6 separate regions of the Homo sapiens genome follow, and all the other regions are linked to region 6. The links are contacts of gene promoters, found by promoter capture Hi-C in blood cells and fetal thymus (Javierre and others, 2016). All regions are on one chromosome and are shown on one strand. The core of a region is centred on a gene start or on the middle of the fragment in contact, and the rest is flanking DNA. Distances in the headings are between cores, read along the strand shown.

What was found. The method cuts DNA at HindIII sites, captures the fragments that hold promoters and counts their contacts. A CHiCAGO score of 5 or more calls a contact.
Region 1: a contact is called between a fragment that was not itself captured here and the fragment with the promoter of SLC2A12 in region 6, in 1 of 17 cell types (M2 macrophages). The highest score is 5.1, in M2 macrophages.
Region 2: the fragment with the promoter of ALDH8A1 here is called in contact with the fragment with the promoter of SLC2A12 in region 6 in 16 of 17 cell types (M2 macrophages, M0 macrophages, total CD4 T cells and 13 more); the score reaches 22.8 in M2 macrophages.
Region 3: a fragment that was not itself captured here is called in contact with the fragment with the promoter of SLC2A12 in region 6 in 2 of 17 cell types (neutrophils and M0 macrophages); the score reaches 7.3 in neutrophils.
Region 4: a fragment that was not itself captured here is called in contact with the fragment with the promoter of SLC2A12 in region 6 in 1 of 17 cell types (M0 macrophages); the score reaches 6.5 in M0 macrophages.
Region 5: a contact is called between a fragment that was not itself captured here and the fragment with the promoter of SLC2A12 in region 6, in 1 of 17 cell types (activated CD4 T cells). The highest score is 5.1, in activated CD4 T cells.

What each region holds. Positions count from the first base shown.
Region 1 is chr6:134,912,394-134,915,708 of GRCh38, forward strand. No RefSeq gene overlaps it. Among named protein-coding and RNA genes, the nearest start is that of ALDH8A1, 36 kb to the right of the region's middle. The HindIII fragment of the contact is 1,889 bases long and covers 897-2,785 here.
Region 2 is chr6:134,948,316-134,951,821 of GRCh38, forward strand. ALDH8A1 (aldehyde dehydrogenase 8 family member A1) reads right to left here and starts at 1,786. Exons shown (of 7, transcript NM_022568.4): 1 at 1,601-1,786. The coding sequence starts at 1,738. The HindIII fragment of the contact is 9,755 bases long and covers 1-3,506 here.
Region 3 is chr6:134,974,286-134,977,807 of GRCh38, forward strand. The region is part of intron 15 of HBS1L (HBS1 like translational GTPase); the gene reads right to left. Among named protein-coding and RNA genes, the nearest start is that of MIR3662, 3.4 kb to the right of the region's middle. The HindIII fragment of the contact is 3,307 bases long and covers 1-3,212 here.
Region 4 is chr6:134,885,903-134,889,509 of GRCh38, forward strand. No RefSeq gene overlaps it. Among named protein-coding and RNA genes, the nearest start is that of ALDH8A1, 62 kb to the right of the region's middle. The HindIII fragment of the contact is 2,041 bases long and covers 709-2,749 here.
Region 5 is chr6:134,822,520-134,826,176 of GRCh38, forward strand. All of the region lies in intron 2 of LOC101928277 (a long non-coding RNA gene), which reads right to left. Among named protein-coding and RNA genes, the nearest start is that of ALDH8A1, 130 kb to the right of the region's middle. The HindIII fragment of the contact is 1,209 bases long and covers 1,099-2,307 here.
Region 6 is chr6:134,051,178-134,054,767 of GRCh38, forward strand. It overlaps SLC2A12 (solute carrier family 2 member 12), which reads right to left and starts at 1,447. Exons shown (of 5, transcript NM_145176.3): 1 at 1,201-1,447. The coding sequence starts at 1,303. The HindIII fragment of the contact is 5,616 bases long and covers 1-3,590 here.

The sequences.
Region 1 (3,315 bases), core at 591-3,090, 860 kb after region 6:
TAGAAAAGAAGTAAAAACCCAAATAAGTGGCTAGTCTTGGGGCCATAAGTGCCATTTTAACCAAAGGTGAAAGATTGTTGAGAAATGACTAACAAAGAAGAGGGAGTTTGGGTTTTTAGGGCCAGTAAATTGTAGAAAGGTAAAAATCTGGGGGAAAATCCAATGAAGGTAAAAGTTATTTAGTGAGATTTGTTTATGCAGACATCTCGGCACCATCTCCATCTCCAGAAATAAAGGTTACTCTTTCTCTCCTGGTACAAGAGAGAAAACTATCATAAGGGAATGTTATGCCCTCCTTTTAGGCAAACAGGGGGAAAATAGCTTTTCCTGTGTCTGCTTTTTCTCAATTACCCTCAGCTCAAAACAATCAATGTATCAAAGTAGCATATATTGGGATGGGATATTCTGTTCCCCTTTAGCTTTTTTACATATCTAAGATCTTCCAGATTATTAAACCTTATTTTTAAATCCATGTTCTTTTTAAAGATGTTCTTCAATCACCACGTCCTGTCTTCCCTGTCCTAACTTGAGCCAACAGCTTTCTAGGCCTCTTTTTAAATATCTAACAACTTAAAATTAATTTTCATTTCATTTTTCAGGCAGTTCTTCTATTTATTTGAATTCTTGTTTCTTTTTGCTGCATTACATCCCCAAGTCATACCAGAAAGGATGAAACCTTCGAGATAGGGAGAAACTTTTCGAGTCATTAAATATCTTATTGTGCCTTCATTCGTGAATAAGAGTTTGGCTGCCTATAAATTTAGGTTCAAAATAATTTTCCTTGAGAACTTTGAAGTTTTGCTCCTCTGTCTTTTAGCATCAATGTTACTAATGAAAATAGTGATGATAATCTTATATGCTTTTTTGTGGTAGGTATCCTGTTGATTCACTCTGTAAGCTTTACACTAGGAATTTTTATTTTTATTTTTGATATTTTGAGACAGGGTCTCACTACATTGGCCAGGCTGGTCTCGAACTTCTTGCCGCAAGATATCCTCCTGCCTTGGCCTCCCAAAGTGCTGGGATTACAGGTGTGAGCCACTGCACCCAGCCTACACTAGGAATTTCAAATTTTCAACAGAGTATTTCTTGAAACATGGTATTTTCCATCTAAAAAGAGTGTCTTTGGTTCAGAGAAATTTTCTTTTTCTATTTATTTGATTTTTTCCCCCTTTTTGTCTTTTTTTTTTTTTTTCAATACATTTGGGGGAACAGGTGGTGTTTGGTTACATGGATACGTTCTTTAGTGGTGATTTGTGAGATTTTGGGGCGCCCATCACCCGAGCAGTGGACACTGTACCCAACGTCTTTCATCCCTATGCCCCGCCCACCCTGCCCGCCAGGGAACTCAGAGTCCGTTATATCATTCTTCTGCCTTTGTGTCCTCATAGCATAGCTTAGCTCCCACTTGTAAGTGAGAACATAATGATGTTTGGTTTTCCATTCCTGAGTTACTTCACTTAGAATAATGGTCTCCAACTCCATCCAGGTTGCTGCAAATGCTGTTATTTCATTCCTTTTTATGGCTGAGTAGTATTCCATGGTATATGTATATATACACATATATAATATATATACATACACACACATACATATATACACACATACATACATTTTCTTTATCCGCTTGTTGGTTAATGGACATTTAGGCTGATTCCATATTTTTGTCTTTGTTTTTACATTTTGAATTAGTTACATATTAATAGCTCTCTGGATCTATCCTGCATCTCACCAACTCTCTTATATTTTTCCTTTTCTGTCATTCTCTACATCCTGAGCTATTTTCTCAACTTTATCTTCCAGACTACTAATTTGTTTTCAGCCATATCAATGACTCAATTCTATAAATTTTAAAAATTTAATTGGAGAATCAGTGTTTAATTTCTCAAGACCTCTTTTATGTTGTTTGCTTGCTCCTTTTTCATAGAAGCCTGTTCTTATTTATAAATGCGCTATCCCCTCACATCTTTCTGAGGGGACTCATTCAACTTTTTAGTGTCTCCGCTCCTTCTTTTATCTGTTTCTACCACAGTAAGTTGCTCTTTCACACATCTTGATATTTTTCTTTTACCGAAAATTTAATAATCCTTGGTTGCTTGGTAATTTTTTTTTTTTTTTGCGGGGGACAGAGTCTCGCAATTCTCCTGCCTTGGCCTCCCAATTAGCTGGGCGTATGCCACCACACCCAGCTAATTTTTTGTATTTTTAGTAGAGATGGGGTTTCACTGTGTTGGCCAGGCTGGTCTCAAACTCCTGACCTCAGGTGATCCACCCACCTCAGCCTCCCAAAGTGCTGGGATTAAAGGCATGAGCCACTGCGCCTGGCCAGTAATTTTTTTAATAAAAACGGTATTGTTGACTGGGCGCGGTGGCTCATGCCTGTAATCCCAACACTTTGGGAAACCGAGGCAGATGGCTCATTTGAGGTCAGGAGTCTGAGATCAGCCTGGCCAACATGGGGAAACCCCGTCTCTACTAAAAATACAATAATTAGCCAGACGTGATGGCGGTTGCCCGTAATCCCAGATACCCAGGAGGCTGAGGCTCAAGAATGGCTTTAAGCCAAGAGGTGGAGATTGCAGTGAGCCAAGATTGTGCCACTGCACTCCAGCCTGAGTGACAGAGCAAGAGTCTGACTCAAAAAAAAAAAAAAAGGACAAAAAAAAATGATATGTTGATTGGCATGGGTAATTGACAAAGTTATTTTTTGCAATTTGGAAAAACAGTTTACCCATAAGACCCATTGCTGAATGGGGGACTAAATCCCCATTTTCTGAAGAAAAGAAGCTTCTTTTTAAGACGTGTGGAGAGTTCATCTTGCACCCTCATTAACTACCAGGGAGGAGGACTTTGCCTTGGGTGGTGAAATTTGGCAGTGCATCTCACTCCAAGATGGGGCTGCCTTTCCCTTCCTCCTCCCCAGCATTGCACGGAAGGTCCTGAGCTATCTCAGGCTTTGTGCCTGGAGCTCCATTAGAGGCATTCCTGGGAAGTTCTTCTACTCTAGTGTCTCCAGCAGGGAGCAAATGTAGCCAGCTTCTCCTGAAACCTAGGAAGAGGAGAGGAGGCACCTGTCTTCTAATCAGTGTCTTCTAATTCTTCGACACTCCAAGTGCAATCTCAGGTCCCACCGCAGAACTACTGAATCCAAATCTGTATTTTAACAGAGTCCCTGGTGTTTCAGGAGCACTTCCGAGTCTAAGAAGCACTACTCTTCAGCTGCTGTCCATCCTTGAGCCTCAAGCTTGGGACCTCTGGGCTCTGCCAGGAGGTGTCTCTCCCATCTTTTCTCAGCTTCTCCTCTCAGCCTGTTCC
Region 2 (3,506 bases), core at 536-3,035, 900 kb after region 6:
GTAGAGTGACAATAGTTAACAATAATTTATTGTATATTTCACAATAGTTAGAAGAAAAGATTTGGAATGTTCCCAACACCAAGAAATGATAAATGTTTAATGTGATGGAGATCCTAATTACCCTGATTTGATCATGACACATTGTATGCATGTATCAAAATGTCACATATGCCCATAAAGATGTACAATTATTATGTATCAATTTTTTAATTTTTTGTTAAAAAAGGGCTTAATGACTGCAAAGCACAAAGCAAAAGTTGAATAAACGGGAGCCACTGTTAGCAGCACCAGCAACATTTTCCTGAGTGATGTTTTGGAAATTGGACATGCAGTTTGTATGGTAACCATATTTTTCAAGCCGGAAAAAACTATGACTTATGGGATCAGATAGGATATTTGGAAGTTGGATTGCTGAGAAACTGAACATATCTATTACTCTACTAGCTAGCGCATCCATAGCTCATTCTATTTTCTAAAAAGTTATGAGCCATTAGCTGCAGGAAATATTTCAGCTGAATTTGGCATGTTTGTCATTTTTAACTTCACTTTGGCAAACAAGGAAGAGTGGAAAACACAAAGCTGGATTTCCCAGAGCTGTGTTAAGTCATTTGAAGCAAACAAAATTGCAGTTTATAATTTAACCAATGCATTAACCAACATTTGCAAACATTAATCCCTAAGTCTGAAGGTTTACTTTAAATGCAAGACAGATTTGAAGTATTAACAAAAAAGAAAAAAAATAGCAATGTTCTTAAAAAAAAACTTTGCATGGAATATATATTTTTATAGGAAGACTATATTTTAAATAATCTAGTTATTTGTGCCTTAAAAAGAATAAATTATAATTCATAAGGCATTAGATGACTATATATACATCAGCTACATTTACCACTTCAGATATATTTACATTCTCAGTGCAATAATTGATAGCTAATCAAATATATCTCAAATATTTTACAAAATTCTCCAAGTAAAATTAATTCTACATCACCAAAAAAATGTAATGCATATGCCATTAAACACTTTGGATAAGAAAAAAGACGCTGTTAAATCTAACTCCAAAAATATATGGGAATTTGATTTTGAGTTTCATCATTCAAATGATTGATTTTATTTTACTAGGTATTTTGAAGACATGACAAATTATGAGAAGACAATCTAAAACAAAGCCCACAGTTTTTTGCTTGTTTGTTTATTTTAGTAAAGCTATACTTTTTTTTTAATTCCATGGATATAGTGGTAAATTTAAGCAGTGCGTGGTGGAGAAAAGGGAATATTTAACAAAGTGATAGCTCTTACAAATAATACTTTGTACTAGACACTGATTAGGAAATGTTTGAGAATTGCAAAAAAAAACTGCACACAGGGCTGTGTTAGGTTGGCTAGAAAAATGACTTACTTTCTGCATATAGGAAGAGATTTGTTCTAGGTATCATACAGTCCAGTTACAAGGTACATCTTCTGAGAACTAGAATCTTCCTTCTATCATGTTTAACAATCCTACATCTTCCCCCAACTCCCTCTGCTTTTAGAAAACTGTTACCCATAATTGGCCAACATATTAAACACATTTCAGTCTTCTTTAAGTGCATATACTCACCTCGTCTTTTCCACTATTTGGCACTCTGCAATACACTTCCCCTGTTGATGGGTCGTAAGAATCTATATATGAGCTACAAGGTAAAAATTTTCCATCTATGAAGTTTTCCAGCATCAAAAGTGCGTTTGTTCCAGCCATAGCAAGGAAAAATTCTGCCTTTCCTCTTTACGACTGAGCACTCAGGTTGTCCCCACCACTGTCTGGACTCCTGAGTGAGCCTCCCCCTTCCCAGCCCCCATCTTCCCCTTTACCAATCAGTGAATGTGGGAGGGCACCTGACGCTCTCAGAGAGCATTCCAGTCTCCAAACTCAGAACTAAGAGAGTGGCTGAATGTTTCACAGACTTCTAGTACATTACCTGACATGGATAATTGTGTGTAAAAGTAACAGCTACTTACTTATGTGTTCATAGCCCTTTAAATCATCAGAAGGCATCTGTGCATGTGATTTTATTGGGTTCACACCGTAAACTGTTCATTGCTCAAACACTGATTGGATGCCAGGCCCCAAAGCAAGTCCTTTACATGAATTTACTCGTTTATTCCACACAACAATCCTATATGAAGTAACCATTACTTCCTCTCTTTTATAGAAGAAACTGAGCCTTGGAGAGGTTAGACCATTTTTCCAAGGTCACATAGTTAGCAGGGGATGAACTGTAGCCCTTTAATCTCCAAATCATATACTTTTTCCTCAATGCATCACTGCTTACCCTGCAGAGGTAACTGAAGACAGATGCCCTCTTTCCGTGGCTCATCTGTGTTTCTTTACCTTGGCTGCCCTCTCTTGGAAGAGCTGTCTCTCCATCCCAAAACCGGGGCCACAGTGGCTGCTCACATCTTCCTAGATGTGCCATGGAGATAAAGACAAGCCAAAAACATGTGTGACACATATAGCAAGGGCTTCAGATCCCTGATGTAGCTGAGAATTTCTACAAATTGGTAAGAGAAATGAGCACCCCAACAGAAAAGATAAGCAAAGATACAAAAAAGCAATCCATAGGAAAAGGAACACAATTGGCTAATGAATATATTAACAATGTTCAGCCTTGTTGTTAAGCAAGGAATGTGAAATACAGAGGTGGCCTGATTTGCCAATCATACTGGAGAGCATTTTTAAAGATTGAGAACATCTACTCTGTGAGGATGTGGAGAATCATCCCTAGTCCATAGGCGGGAGGGTTCACAGAACACTGCTTGGGGCAATTTGTCAGGGTCTGGTCAATTTCTCTTCTAGGAATCTCTCCTACAGAATTACGTGCTCATGAACAAGTACATAAGTCACAGGACATCCTTTTTTATCATAATTTAAAAATCAAAACAACCTAAAGTCCATCAATTGGAGAATATTAGAGTATAATTGTTATATTCTTAACAGGGAATACTACTTAGACATTAGAAGGATGCATTGTTAAGTGAAAAAATAAAACTAGTGAATAATATATACAGCATAGTTTCTTTGGCTATTTACATGGTTGACAGGAAGCCGTTTTAAACTGCTTGGATATTTTATGGCAAGCCTATATTACTTTTATAATTATGATTTATAGTTATAATTCAGTTGAAGGTTAGGTACCAATATTCTAAAATTCATTGATCACATGAGGGCACTTGCTGGCCGTGCACCTCCTTAGGCCCTCTCTGCTTCCATCTTTATTGGTCTCTAGATATTCTCCAAAATTCTTGCTGAGACTTCTGACAAGCATGGTGTGGCTGATTCTGGGAGGCCCAGAGCAGCTGGAGTCTGGAGCTGGCGCCGTTGCCTGTCGCTGGAGAGTCGCTGACAGGGACTGGAGACAGAAGGTAGTCTCAGGCTTTTTCTGGTGCTGCCCACGGTCAGGTCAGCTGGAAACAGAATGAGAGAAATACGCAGGTCCCAGCCCTGGCACCACAGAGTGAAGTACCAA
Region 3 (3,522 bases), core at 309-2,808, 920 kb after region 6:
AAAAGCTCAGGGCCAGATGGATCCATAGCCAAATTCTACCAGACATTCAAAGAAATAATACCAATCCTACTGAAACTATTAAAAGACTGAGAAAGAGAGAATCTTCTCTAACTCATTCCATAAAGCCAGTATCATCACCCTGATAACAAAACCAGGAAAGGACATAACAAAAAAAGAAAGCTACAGACCAACACCCCTGATAAACACAGATGCAAAAATCCCTAACAAAATACTAGCAAACCAAGTCCAACAGCATATCCAAAAGACATTTTATCATGATCAAGGAGGTTTCCTCCCAAGGATGCAGGAATGGTTCAGCATATGCAAGTCAATAAATGTGATTCACCACTGAAACAATTAAAAGCAAAAAAAAAACAGATGATCATCTCAATAGATGCGGAAAAAGCACTAGATAAAATCCAGGATCCCTTAATGATAAAATGTTCAATAAACTAGGCAAAGAGGAAACATACCTCAAAATAATAAAAGCCACATATGACAAACCCACAGCCAACATCATACTAAATGGGGAAAAGTTGAAAGCATTCCCCCTAAGAACTGAAACAAGACAAGGATGTTCACTCTCATCACTTCTATTAAACACAGTACTGGAAGTCCTAGCCAGAGCAATCAGGCAAGAGAAAGAAATCAAGGGCATCCAAATTGGAAAAGAGTAAGTCAAACTATCTCTGTTTGCCAATGATATAATTACATACCTAAAAAATCCTAAAGATTCCTCCCAAACAACACCTAGATTTGATAAATGAATTCAGTAAAGTCTCAGGTTACAAAATCAATGTACACAAATCAGTAGCACCAACAACGATCAAGCTGAGAATCAAATCAAGAACAAGAACTTAATCCCTTTTACAATAGCTACAAAACCAACCAACCAACCCACCTAGGAATGTACTTAGCCAAGGAGGTGAAAGATCTCTTACAAGGAGAACTACAAAACACAGCTGAAAGAAATCATGGATGACAAATGAACAGAGATACATCCCATGCTCATGAATTGGAAGAATCAATATCATGGAAGAGACCACATTGCCCAATCTACAGATTTGGTGCAAATCCTGTCAAAATACTAACATCATTTTCCACAAGATTAGAAAAAACAATCCTAAAATTCATATGGAACCCAAAAAGAGCCCAATTAGCCAAAGCAGTCCTAAGCAAAAAGAGCAAATCTGGAGGCATCACACTACCCTACTTCAAATTATACTACAGGCTATAATAACCAAAACAGCATGGTACTAGTATAAAGGTAGATTCATAGACCAATGCAACAGAATAGAGAACCCAGAAACAAAGCCAAATACTTAACAACCAACTAATCTTTGACAAGGCATGCAAAAACATAAATTGGGGAAAGGACACCCTATTCAATGGATGGTGCTGGGAAAATGGATGGTGCTGGATAGCTACATATGGAAGAACGAAAACTGGATTCCTATCTCTCACTACATGCAAGAGTTAACTCAAGAGGGACTTGGATCTAGGAACTGAAACCATGGAAATTCTGGAGGAAAACCTGGGAGAGGTTCTTCTGGACATTGGCCTAGGTAAGAATTTATGACTAAGACCCCCAAAGCAGATTCAACGGAAATAAAAATAAATAGATAAGACCTAATTAAGCTAAAGAGCTAGTGCACAGCAAAGAAATCCTGAACATAGTAAACAGACAATCCACAGAATGGAAGAAAATATTTGCAAACTATGCATCTGACAGGACTAGTATCCAGAATCTACAAAAGACTCAAATCAGCAAGAAAAAAAAGCAAACAATTCCATCAGGAAATGGGCAAGTGACATGAGCAGACACTTCTCAAAAGAAGACATACAAATGGCCAAGAAACATATGAAAAAATGCTCAACATCATTAATCATCGAGGAAGTACAAATCAAAGCCACAATGGGATACCACCTTACTCCAGCCAGAATGGCCATTATTAAAAAGTCAAAAAACAATAGATGTTGCCCTGTATGCGATGAAGAAGGGAACACTTGTGCACTGCTGGTAGGAATGTGGATTGGTATAGCCTCTGAGGAAAACAGAACAGAGATTTCTCAAAGAACGAAAAGTAGATCTACCAGTTGATCCAGCAGTCTCACTACTGGGTATCTACCCAAAGGAAAATAAGTCATTATATCAAAAAGATACTTGAATGCATGTTTATCACAGCACAATTTACAGTTGCAAGAATGTGGAACCAACCTAAGTGCCCATCAACCAATGAGTGGATAGAGAAAACGTATATGTACACCATGGAATACTACTCAGCCATACAAGGGTAGAGATAGTGTGTTTTGCAGCAACTTGGATAGGGCTGGAGGATATTATTCTAAGAGAAGTAACTTAGGAATGAAAAACCAAATAGCATATGTGCTTACTTAAAAGTGGGAGCTAAGCTATGGGTACACAAAGACATACAGAACAGTATAGGGGACACTGGAGACTCAGTAGCGGGTAGGGCTTGAAGGGGGTGAGGGATAAGAAACTACATCTTGGGTACAATATACACTACTTGGGTGATGGGTGCACTAAAATCTTAGATTTCACCATTATACAATTTATCCATGTAATCAAAAACCACTAGTTGGTAAAAAGAAGTAAAAAGAAAATTGACAAATAAATAAAAAACAAAGGAAAAAATTACTTGTACCCAAAAGCTACTGAAATAGAGTTTCCCATACAAAATAGGGAAAATTTAAATATATTTATGTAGTATTATGGCATTAGTCCCTAAACAGTAAAATTTTAATAGCTTAGGAAACCTTTGTTTGCTTAAAAAATTTTTTTTCAAGTTTTTCTCCCATAGGGAGTAGACTGACAAAATATGGCCATATTTTTCTGAAACAAATTTGATCCTGGTATTTCTGAATCAATATATGCTGGCAGAATCTCCTAAAGCAACAGTGAAAAACTTGCAATTCATGCTTATTTTTAAGAAACTACAGTAGTCAGGGAGACAGTATTACTATTCAAAGTCACTTCTGACCTCTTCATCCCTCTACCTCTCCATTGGCAAATATTATTATTGCATGAGTAAAAATATGCAGTAACCAACCCCTCCTTTGCCTCATAGGACATACTGCTTTCTGTGAATGAGTTCCATTCGCTCACAACAATTAACTTGTTGTTACTTGATGATCAATACATGAATTCTGAATATTTAAGTATCTTCAACTATAGCAATTTTTTTAAAAGAAGCTTTTCTTTTCTAGTGTATGGAAGAAATGGAATATAATTATGTAAGTAAAGTACCTAAATAGTACCTTAAAATATAATTTTACATGATCAAATTAATATAGAAATAATTACAAAGAATTATAAAGTACAAGGTTATCTCAAATATAGGTGTATCAGTATAAATGACCCAAATAAATGTATTGCCAACCTCTAAACCACTATCACTAACTTTAAAAACTCTTACTTTTATTTCAAAGATGCATCAAATGGTAGAAACATCACTGAGAAACATTTATTGTCATGCAGAATCTGTACTATATGAGCTAATT
Region 4 (3,607 bases), core at 479-2,978, 840 kb after region 6:
GATTACACATATCTCAACACCCGTTTTTCCTCCAAAGGTTAGATCACCACAGCCATTCCAGATTGTCCATTTTGTCAATGTCCTTCTACATACAGGGGCCAGCATTACTGAGCACATTGCCTTAAAAGTGTCCTAAAAATCAGAGTATTGAAGAGGATGATAACATCTCCCTGCTTTGGTTCACAGAGCAGAGCCTGTAAGTGTGCTCAGTCTGTGTCTGTGCAGGACAAGGGGGAGGATCTTTTTATTAGATACTCAAGTAAACAAGGTTACTTCAGTCCTACACTTGTGCACTTAACTGTGCTGAACCTAAATGTGGCATGTTTTTGTTACTCCCTTTAGTGTTTTATTTTTTTGACAGCATTTCAGCCCAGACCTAGCACTAGATCTTGTACCTGGAAAGTATTTAATATTTGGTGGATAAATAAATCAAAGGATATACTTTTTAAATTTACATTCTGTCAGCACATATGTTTACACTTCTTCTCAGTTTCCAAACATTTGAAAATCTGACAGGCATACTATATCAGTTAGGGATGCTTTTGGCAGCAAGTAACAGAAAAATTTGAGCACAAAAACCTAAACACACGAGTTTAATTTTTCTCACATAACAATAAATCTGAGAGTAGGCAGCCCTGGGCTCATGTTGCCAGTGACACCATTAGGGACCACATTTCCTTTCATCTTTCAGATTCATTATCCTTAGCAAGCTTACTTTCATCTTCACGCTTTTTGTCCCTTGGTCTCAAGATGCCTATCTCACCTACAGACATCACACGCACATTTCGGCCAAGAACCAAGGGAAAGGGCAAAGGGACAAATTCCATGCCAGCTGGGTCTGTCCCCTTTGTATCAGAAAAGTAAGAACTTTCCCAGAAGTGTCACTAGCCATACTTTCTTTTGCATCTTATCAGCCAGAACTGGATCACGCAGTCATCCTTAGACTAATGACTGGCCAAGAGGAATAACTGGCTTAGAATTACTATTAATTCCCAGGGACTAAGGGTGGGCCCTTCCTCCCTGAAACAAAAGGACTTCTGCTACTACCCAAATAAATTTAAGTTCTGTTAGCAGGAAAGGAGGGATATGAATATTGGGTCAATAAAGACAAGTACCTAGCACACATGCCTTCCACAATGTATATTTAGATAAGCAAGTCTTTGTGTGACTTCATTCAAGGTCATCAAAATCATGTCACTAATACAGAATTTAATAGAAGACCCTGGAAATGACTTGTTTTCCTCCCCGTTGAGGTTATTAATTATCCACCATGAACCTAGAATAGGAACTTTTAAAAACCTTAAAATGTGCACAAGTGTTCCAATTTAGAATTTTAGGCCTGGCTACTGTATTAGTCCGTTCTCATGCTGCTAATAAAGACCTACCTGAGACTGCGTAATTTATAAAGGAAAGAGGTTTAATGGATTGATGGTTCCACATGGCTGAGAAGGCTTCACAATCATGGCAGAAGACAAATGAAGAGCAAAGGGACGTCTTACATGGTGGGAGGCAAAGAGCACGTGTGCAGGGGAACTGCCCTTTATAAAACCATCACATCTCCTGAGATGTATTCACTATCATGAGAACAGCACGGGAAAGACCCATCCCCATGATTCAGTTACCTCCCACCAGGTCCCTCCTATGGCACGTGGGTATTATCAAAATTCAAGGTGAGATATGGGTGGGGACACAGCCAAACCAAATCAGCTACTTTGATATTCTACCAACACCCAACACTTCATTTCTTCACCTTATGCTCTGTGTCTGTCTACCATAAGAATCTGAGTTTGTTGGCTGGGTGCAGTGGCTCATGCCTGTAATCCCAACACTCTGGGAGGCCGAGGCAGGCAGATCACGAGGTCAGGAGATCAATACCATCCTGGCTAACATGGTGAAACCCTGTCTCTACTAAAAATACAAAAAATTAGCCGGGCGTGGTGGCACACGGGAGGCTGAGGCAGAAGAATCACTTGAACCCGGGAGGCAGATGTTGCAGTGAGCCGAGATCGTGCCACTGCACTCCAGCCTGGGTGACAGAGTGAGACTCATCTCAAAAAAAAAAAAAAACAAAGAATCTGAGTTTGTTTAGGGTAATGATTATGTCTTACCCATGTCCAGACATCACCAACACCTAGCACAACAGTTAGCATGAGCTCAATGAATATTTATTTTTAAAATAAAGTCCAAGTTATTGATGGATTAGATAGTATTATAACATGAATGTTCTATTCTCATTAGAAAGACTGTCTTGGAAATACATTTTTTGGTGCTACTAACATTTCAGCAAGTTGGTTTTCTTCTTGTGTGTATCTACTATGGAAGCTATACATGCAATGCATACTTAAGAGTCAATACACTTGTACTTCTATACAATGAAATATGACTCGGCAAGATAAAGGAACAAACTACGGATATGCACCATGATGTGGATGAATCTCAAAAGCATTATACTCAGTGAAAGATGCCAGGCAGAAGAGGCTACATGTGCTGGGACTCTATTTATATGAAATATCCACAAAAGGCAAGCTATAAAGATAGAAAGTAGATTCGTGGTTGCTAGGGACAGGGGATAATGGAAATTAGCAGTAAATGTGCATGAGGGATGGAATTGGCATGATGAAAATGTGCTAAAACAGATTTATGGTGATGGTTGCACAACTTGGTACATTTGCTAAAAAAAATCACTTGAAAAGAGTGATGTGCAAAATATGCTCTGATAACCATTTTAAAATCAGTTTAGGACTCTGGAAGCTTTCTGGCATTCTTAAGACAGACCAGCACCTATCTGCATAACGTTCCGAGTAGACATGAGCATCCTTCACAGGAGGGCAGTTTTCAAATGCGAGAACACAGAGGCATTCGAGGAGCATATTACCCCCAGATAAATTTTTGTTTGACATAGGGTCTCACTATATTGCCCAAGCTGGCCTCAAACTCCTGTGCTCAAGTTATCATCTCACTTGTGCCTTAGTCTCCCAGATAGCTGGGACTACAGGTGTGGACCACCATGCCCATTTCCCCCCAGATAAGTCTTTAATGGAGCCTCCAATACACCGAGATTAAAGTTTCCAACATCGGCACTGGCAAAACTATAAAGGCTTCTTCTCCACAAGACCCATAGGAGATGCTCCCTGGGTTTACATGCCCTTCCCCACGACAGACCTTCACATCAGCGCTGCAACTGGATTCAAGTGTCAGATGTGCTAGTTAATGCTGTGGGTCCCAAAGGAATGAGACGTGTAATTCTGACTAATTTCGACTGAAGATAAGTGCAATGTCTATACAAACAAAAACAACAATAAAAAGATCTTTTACTGTGTCAAACATGACTACTGCTTAGTGTACCTCTTACTTGTTTGTTATAAGTATGCTTTAAGTCTCTCTCCTTTTTCCATTTCCCACTTTGAGTTCCTCTAGAAGGACTCCCTTCTGTTACTCTTTATACATGCACTGCCTCACAGAGGAGGTAGAAAGGCCTCAGGATGGGAAAACTGAGGGGAAAAAAGCAAAACCATCATGCCACCTAAAAACTAAACTTAAGAGTATTCCTACCTCTTGCTGCGTTTTTCTTTTTTCACGTTATACCATCAACACTTTTCCTTATATT
Region 5 (3,657 bases), core at 453-2,952, 770 kb after region 6:
AAATTCATCATGGAAAAAAAAATAATAGAATTTTTCCCCTGGAGAAGCTTATGTTTAGATATTAGATACGTAAAAGACTGAACTATTTGTATAACCTCTAAGATTCTTTCCAGCTCTACAATTCACTGCATACATAAATGGGAAATGTTTAGGCCCAGGAGGCATACCAATGTGTACAAGTATACTGTTATTCATTTGATTCTTGCCCCGTATGCTTTACAGAGTCTAATTATCTAAATGAGATTTGGTTAAATAAAAATTGATATTTCTGTATGACAAGTATATATTTACATAAAAGGCAATACATATCCCCACAGTTTTCATTAAAATGGAAAAATAAAACGTATTTTAAAAAGTAATTGGAGAAGTTTTAGAAAGCACCTGGTTGAGGATTTCTTTGTTTTACAAATGAGGAATCTCAGGGAATCTTGGAGGTCTGTTCCTTCCAGGCCTCATTCCAGGGAGGGGCAGATTTGGAACTAGAGCCCAGGCCTCCAGGCTCTCACGCCTCTGTGGTCCGTGGTCCGTGGTCCGGGGCTTAGGTTGGCCGGTAGGGGTAGGGTAATAAATCTCATTCGCCAAATGAGGAAACAGCGTCATCTAGTGGAAATTTATCAGCGTATTCTAGACATGCTGTTATCCCTAGCTCTGCTGTCCCTAATTTCCCAAGACAACATTTCTGGACCATTTTCTCTCCCCCATGTTTCCAAAGCCCAAGAATCTCCCAGTGGGGCCCCCTCCTACAACCTCCTCACCCCACAGCATATTTCAGTCTCTTCTCTGCCAAACTTTCCAACATAGCCCCAGGAATCAATCATTTGCCTCAAGGGCCACCGGGGCTGTTGTCCTTTGAGTGTTTTTTGTTTCAAGTTTTCATCAAAATAACCCTGTTAACCACGGCTTCAGGCCTTTACCAAATGGTGTGGCAAATCAATTCCATCATTTATGAAGATCCAGATAGATACTGCTTTTCATTCAGCCACACTGAGATGATCCTTGTTTTTCCCCTGCTACCATCAAGTTAGGACACTTTGGTTGCTTTTGAAATAATTCATCAGGGAATTTCCCAGGACAGTTCTGTGACCAAGCATGTGGACAAGCTTCAGTCAAAACTTAGGAGGTATTAAATAGAAAACAAAACATGTAACAAGTAATTATCCCATATGATAAATGTTCCATTATGAGAAAGCACAAAGGGAAGGGGGAAATTCATTCTGCTGAGGTTAGAAAAAGCTGCATGCAAGAGGAAACACTAGATCTGAGTTTTGAAGGAGATAGATGGGCCTTTGATTTCTAAAGAAATGGGTGTGGTATGCTAGGCAGGGGGAACAGCAGAAGCAAAGGTCAGGAGTCCTGAGAGTACAGCATGTGATAAAGGATCAGGGCCCAAGAAGATGGGTGGGAAGTGATGTGGAAGGCAGTTCAGGACTGGAACAGAAAGATGCTTAGATGCCATCGCAGAAAACTTTTTTTTTTTTTTTTGAGACGGAGTCCCACTCTGTCACCCAGGCAGGAGTGCAATGGTGCGATCTCAGCTCACTGCCACCTCTGCCTCCCAGTTTCAAGCGATTTTCCTGCCTCAGCCTCCTGAGTAGCTGGGATTACAGGCACACACTACCACGCCCAGCTAATTTTTGTATTTTTAGTAGAGATGGAGTTTCACCATGTTGGTCAGACTGGTCTCAAACTCCTGACCTCATGATCCGCCCACCTTGGCCTCCCAAATTGCTGGGATTACAGGTGTGAGCCACCACGCCTGGCCGAAAACTTGGATTTTAGATGCAATTAGACACTATCAAATTATGGGCCACAGCAAAAAAACTGTGTTTGAAGTCTCCAGGTAATAAAGTACTTTATTCATCCCAGCTGTTTTGAAGCTACTTTCTACATAAAATGGTTCCCTTATTTCATGGCTTGTGAAACAGGCTCTGAAAATGAATTATTTGTCAATGCAGGGACAGGAACTCAGATCTGTTGGCTCCCAGTCCATTTCTTCATAGTAAAGAGCTAAGAGCATGAAATGCTTATTAGAATAATTAAAAATTTTTAAATTAGAAAATCTTGTAGGTCTTCCTCTGATTTTTGTTCCTGTATAAATCCTCTAAAAGTATTAAATATATGTAATTGTCTTTTAATCATATCCCCCCATCCAATCCGAGTCTGCTATATAAATGAGAAAATAATCCAATAGGCAATCTATTTGAAAGCACTAATACGAGAAACAGAAAATTTTCAGACTAAAAGAGATGATAAAAGAGGCAAATGTAAACCACCATGGACTGAAGAATACAACATGAGAGAAGCAAAAGCTTTGTAAAGATTTCTAGGAAATTCTGATTCCATTGGTTTCATGAGGACATCAATCACACTGATGTTGTTACCGAAACACCAAGGGTTCAGTCTAGGTCCTGCTGCTGGCTGCACAGAAAACCAATCACTGAGATGATGACATGCCAAGGAAGAAGGCTTTAATTGGGTGCTACATCCTAGAAGATGGGGGCTCAGTCTCAAATCCATTTCCCTGGCCAGGCATGGTGGCTCATGCCTGTAATCTCAACACTTTAAGAGGCTGAGGCAGGCAGATTGCCTGAGGTCAGGAGCTTGAGACCAGCCTGGCCAACATGGTAAACCCCATCTCTACTAAAAATACAAAAATTAGCTGGGCATGGTAGCACACACCTGTAGTCCCAGCTACTTGGAAGGCTGAGGCAGGAGAATAGCTTGAACCTGGGAGGCGGAAGTTGCAGTGAGCTGAGATTGCACCACTGCACTCCAGCCTGGGTGACAGAACAAGACTCCATCTCAAAAAAAAAAAAAAAAATCCATTTCCCTTATCAACTGAAACGTGGGTTTATATAGCAGGGAGAAAAATGTAACAATGTGTAAGAAAACAGGAACTAGGGAGGGGCAAAGAAGAAATCATGACGAATGAGGGGTCAGGCATCTCATTGTCTGGATCTGGTGACTTCGTGAATTTCAGTCCTTTGATACTTTTTTTGAGAGGTATGAAAGTCCTTTCATAAGAAAGGAACTCAGATAAAACGAATATTAGTTTCAAGCTTTAAGACTAGAAAGGTCAATTTCTATGTTTATCAAAAAGAACTGTCTATGGGACCATTGGGTCAGTTTTTTTGTTTTGCTTTGTTTTGTTTTTTGAGACGGAGTCTTGCTCTGTCACCCAGGCTGGAGTGCAGTGGTGAGCTCTCCGCTCACTGCAAGCTCTGCCTCCCAGGTTCATGCCATTCCCTGGCCTCAACCTCCCGAGTAGCTGGGACTACAGGCACCCGCCACCACACCTGGCTAATTTTTTTTTTTTTTTTTTTTTAAGCAGAGATGGGGTTTCACCATGTTAGCCAGGAAGGTCTCAATCTCCTGACCTCGTGATCCACACGCCTCGGCCTCCCAAAGTGCTGGGATTTTAGGCGTGAGCCACTGCGCCCGGCCAGGGTCGGTTTTGATGTCAGAAAAGGATAGTACGTAGATGTCATTAAAAGACAATCATGGCAACCAACTCTAACTTGGTTATTTAGAGGCCAGCATTTCTTTCTTTCTTTCTTTCTTTTTTGAGATGGAATCTCGCTCTGTCTCCAGGCTGGAGTGCAGTGGTGCGATCTTGGCTCACTACAACCTCTGCCTCTGGGTTCAAGTGATTCTCCT
Region 6 (3,590 bases), core at 197-2,696:
GGCCTCCCAAAGTGCTGAGATTACAGGCATGAGCCACCACGCCCGGCCTCATTCTTGACGAGAAGTGTGAAAGCAAGAGAAGAGATCAGGACATGGAAGATGGAGGGCTTCTCCACTCCTGAAGAGGGCCGCTTCATGCCTCGATGTTAGGGGTCACAGGTTCGATTCCCCAAGATCAGACAAACCCACAAGGCAAACGTCAGTATTAGGACCATTCCCAAGAGAAAGGCAGATGTCTTTTGTATCATTTAGTGTATTGGATTTTGCATGAAATTTCTATATGCTGCTTGGGAATGTAATATCTGATTAAGAATACACAGCTGAGGAAAGTAGTAGGAAAGAGAAGATTTTTTGTGTTTGTTGTCATTTCATATTACAATTACTTTCTATTCCTTGCAGCACAAACTAAATGAGCAGGAAGAGGCAGCAAAAAGCGTACAATGTATTTGTGGGAATTGTAAATGTGGAAGTGAAGACCAGCCTCTGATTTATCAAAGATCATTAAATGAATTAAAACTTTTCCAAATTTCACCTTCAGAAGGTCATCATAGCAAACAAACCTCAGTTTGCAAGGCCAGTTTTAAAGAAGGCAGAACCCAGCAAAGCAAGCGTTTCAGGCTCTGAATAACGCTCAAATTCATCACAAACGTGCTGGGAATTTAAAAAGGAAGTTTGTGTTCTCATTGATTACATAACTAATAATTTTATGAAGCCTGTTTAAAATACTGATTTTTAAAACAGTGGTTATAATGTCAACTGGTTACACAGTGTCCATTTGTGACAATAAATGAAAAAGTGTAAGCAAGCGTGTGCTTGTGTGTGTTTACAAATGAGACTATCTTTGCCAGTGGACCGTTCCAATATGAAAAACATCCATACATTGTATTATGTAAACACAATCAAGGGGACCCATCATACCAGTGGTGGATGTGTAACCTGTATTTTCTTGGCACATAAGGTTCCACCAAGACTTCGATCTTCACAACATTACAGCTCCGAGCTGTCCCACGTCCCACCAGACCCTGTCCCCTTCTCTCCACTCATCCAGCGCGCCCACATGCGCGCGCGCGCATACACACACACACACACACACACACACACACACACACACACACACACGGGACTCAAGAGACAGTACACTCGGGAGATGAGTACAGCTTGCTTCTCTGCGGTCACCCGAGCACTGCAGGCTCACTTTACCTCTCGCCCAGGGAGGATGCCGGCTGCCGCTGCCCTCCGTCTCCACGGCTGTCCCCTTCTGGTTCAGCAGACTGGGGCCCTCGGTGTTTTCAACAGGTACCATGGTCACGTAGAAGTTACAGCCGCTTCCCCGCCACCAAACCGCCCCGACCACCCCCGCTCCCAGGAGTGGTCACTTTCCCCATAATAGCATGCTAAAGAAGAGTGTGGGGAAAAACTTCGGGCAAAGCTAATGTGATTTGTGACCAACTTTGTTTCTATTTCCGAAGGCTTTGCCCTTTTCGGTGACACAGGCTGTTGCTATTCCAAGCAGCCTATCACAGGCAGGGGGAGGGCCGTGAGTCAGAGGATTGTTTTTGCCTTTAGATGCAGAGTTGGAAGCAAGGGGTTAAAAGAAAGGGAACTCAGACGGAGTGTTTGGCCATTAGCTAAGGGTAGCTCTTGTATTCTAGCACCTTTGAAAAGAGGCAGAGAAAGGAAACATGCAGATTTAAATGCAAGCTGAGAGTGGGGATAGAATACTCACAGATGGTATCAGTTAATCTTGCAGAAAGAGGAACAATTTATGCAAAGACATACCAGAAGGAAAAGTGTGTCAATTTTTCAGCAAGACTGTTATTCCAAAAGTCATGGTATTTACCAGCTTACACAAAGCATAAAATACCTTTATTGTTTCAACCTGATTTTGGTCTAGGTAAAGGCCTATATCTTTCTCTCCAAGGCCTTTCAGATAAATCACAGCCTGAGACCAAAAATACACAAACTCAGAATGCACAGATTCTTTAGACTTTTTATATGCTGAGGTTATAGCAAAGTAATCCATTTCTTAATGCAGAATTGTCTTTAAGAGACAAATTAACACTGAATCCTCTGTTAGGTTTCATGTTTGCGTAGGTAGGAGGAGGATACTCCTCACTCAGAGAGGCCAGACTAAGTGGCCCATTGTGTGCGTGTGGTGGACATGTAATCTCAAACAAAATCAGGTCATGAGAGAGGATCTTTTTCTGATTTGTGAACATATTTATAAAAAAGTCTTACAGGGTTATGACATTTTACCTTCAGTTATTCATTCAACAAATCATGTTTATTAAAAAAAAAAGCCTTATAGAGGAAATTGAGATCATCTTAAAAATCATTTGGAATAAAAACTAACATGTGTGGAGCACTTATGTGCCAGAAATTGTGCTAAGCGCAATAACGCAGATGATGACTTTGAGGCAGGTACCAACATTATAGAAGAGGAAATGGAGGTTGGGTAACTTGGCTACAGTCTCACAGCTAATCAGTGGTAGAGCTGAGATTATGAATCCAGGAGGTCTAAAGCTGTAACTCTCCTATATTCTAACTTCCCAGCCTTGTCCTTCTCTAATTTTCTTGGCTTCCTATGGTTTCAGACCTACTCGACTTTAAGAAGATGCCGTGAAATATGGCTTTTAGTCATAGGCATTTCTCTGGACAGAAAAACAAATTTGTGCTTGTATAAGCAGAAGCTAAATTTTTGTTACTTCTTTTCAACATTTTAACTGAATCACTTCAAAGTTCTAAATTCACTTATTTGTACATTTCCTTTGCTTGTCATTAAATAATTCTATATTTTTCTTATCTTTCAGGGAAACAGGTAGCAAATGGAAACAAACCTATAATAATTCAACTAGTCTTTATTATGTACCCGTTGTATGTCTGCTGATAGTGCTAGAAAATGGAAGTCCTCCAGGCATAATCCAGGCCCCTTATGATTAAGAGGGTGAGAAGTTCAGAATCCCACACATCAGTGTCCCCACTAAAGAATGTGTAACGCAACCATGGTTTGAAACAACTCATTTTATTTGTTCCCAGGGTGCATTATAATTATATAGGAGTCCCAGTTTCTATCTGTGAGACACATATGTTTCCCATAAGTTCTCTATATTCTCTTGGCTTCTAACTTCTTTCTGCTCAGAACCAATGACCTCATTAGGGGGAAAATGTTCTTGCAATGGGTTAGTTGTATCATTGCTTTGTTTCGTGATCCCACAACCTGTGTTTCTAGCAGCTTCTTGGCCCCATGGGAGTGTTAGAGTGTTTGCTATAGTGCTTGACTAGACAGAAGACAAAACTAATTCCAGAATACTTTACTATGGTTAAAAGCAGTTCAACAGTTCTCACTCTGTTTTGTGTAGCCAAACCATACAGGAGATCCACAGGCATAGTAAGCCAACCAGGAGTCAAAAAGAATGCTCAGCAATGCAACTGACAACATCACCTCCTGGTGCTCCTAATTCTGTTCTTTATTCTGCTGGTGACCTGACCGGGGCCACTGGCTATCTCAAGCTCTGTTTGTACTTACCTCAATCTCTTAACTCAGAGAAAAGTTTAGGGGAGAAAATTTTTTTCACCCAGACTAGAGGGGG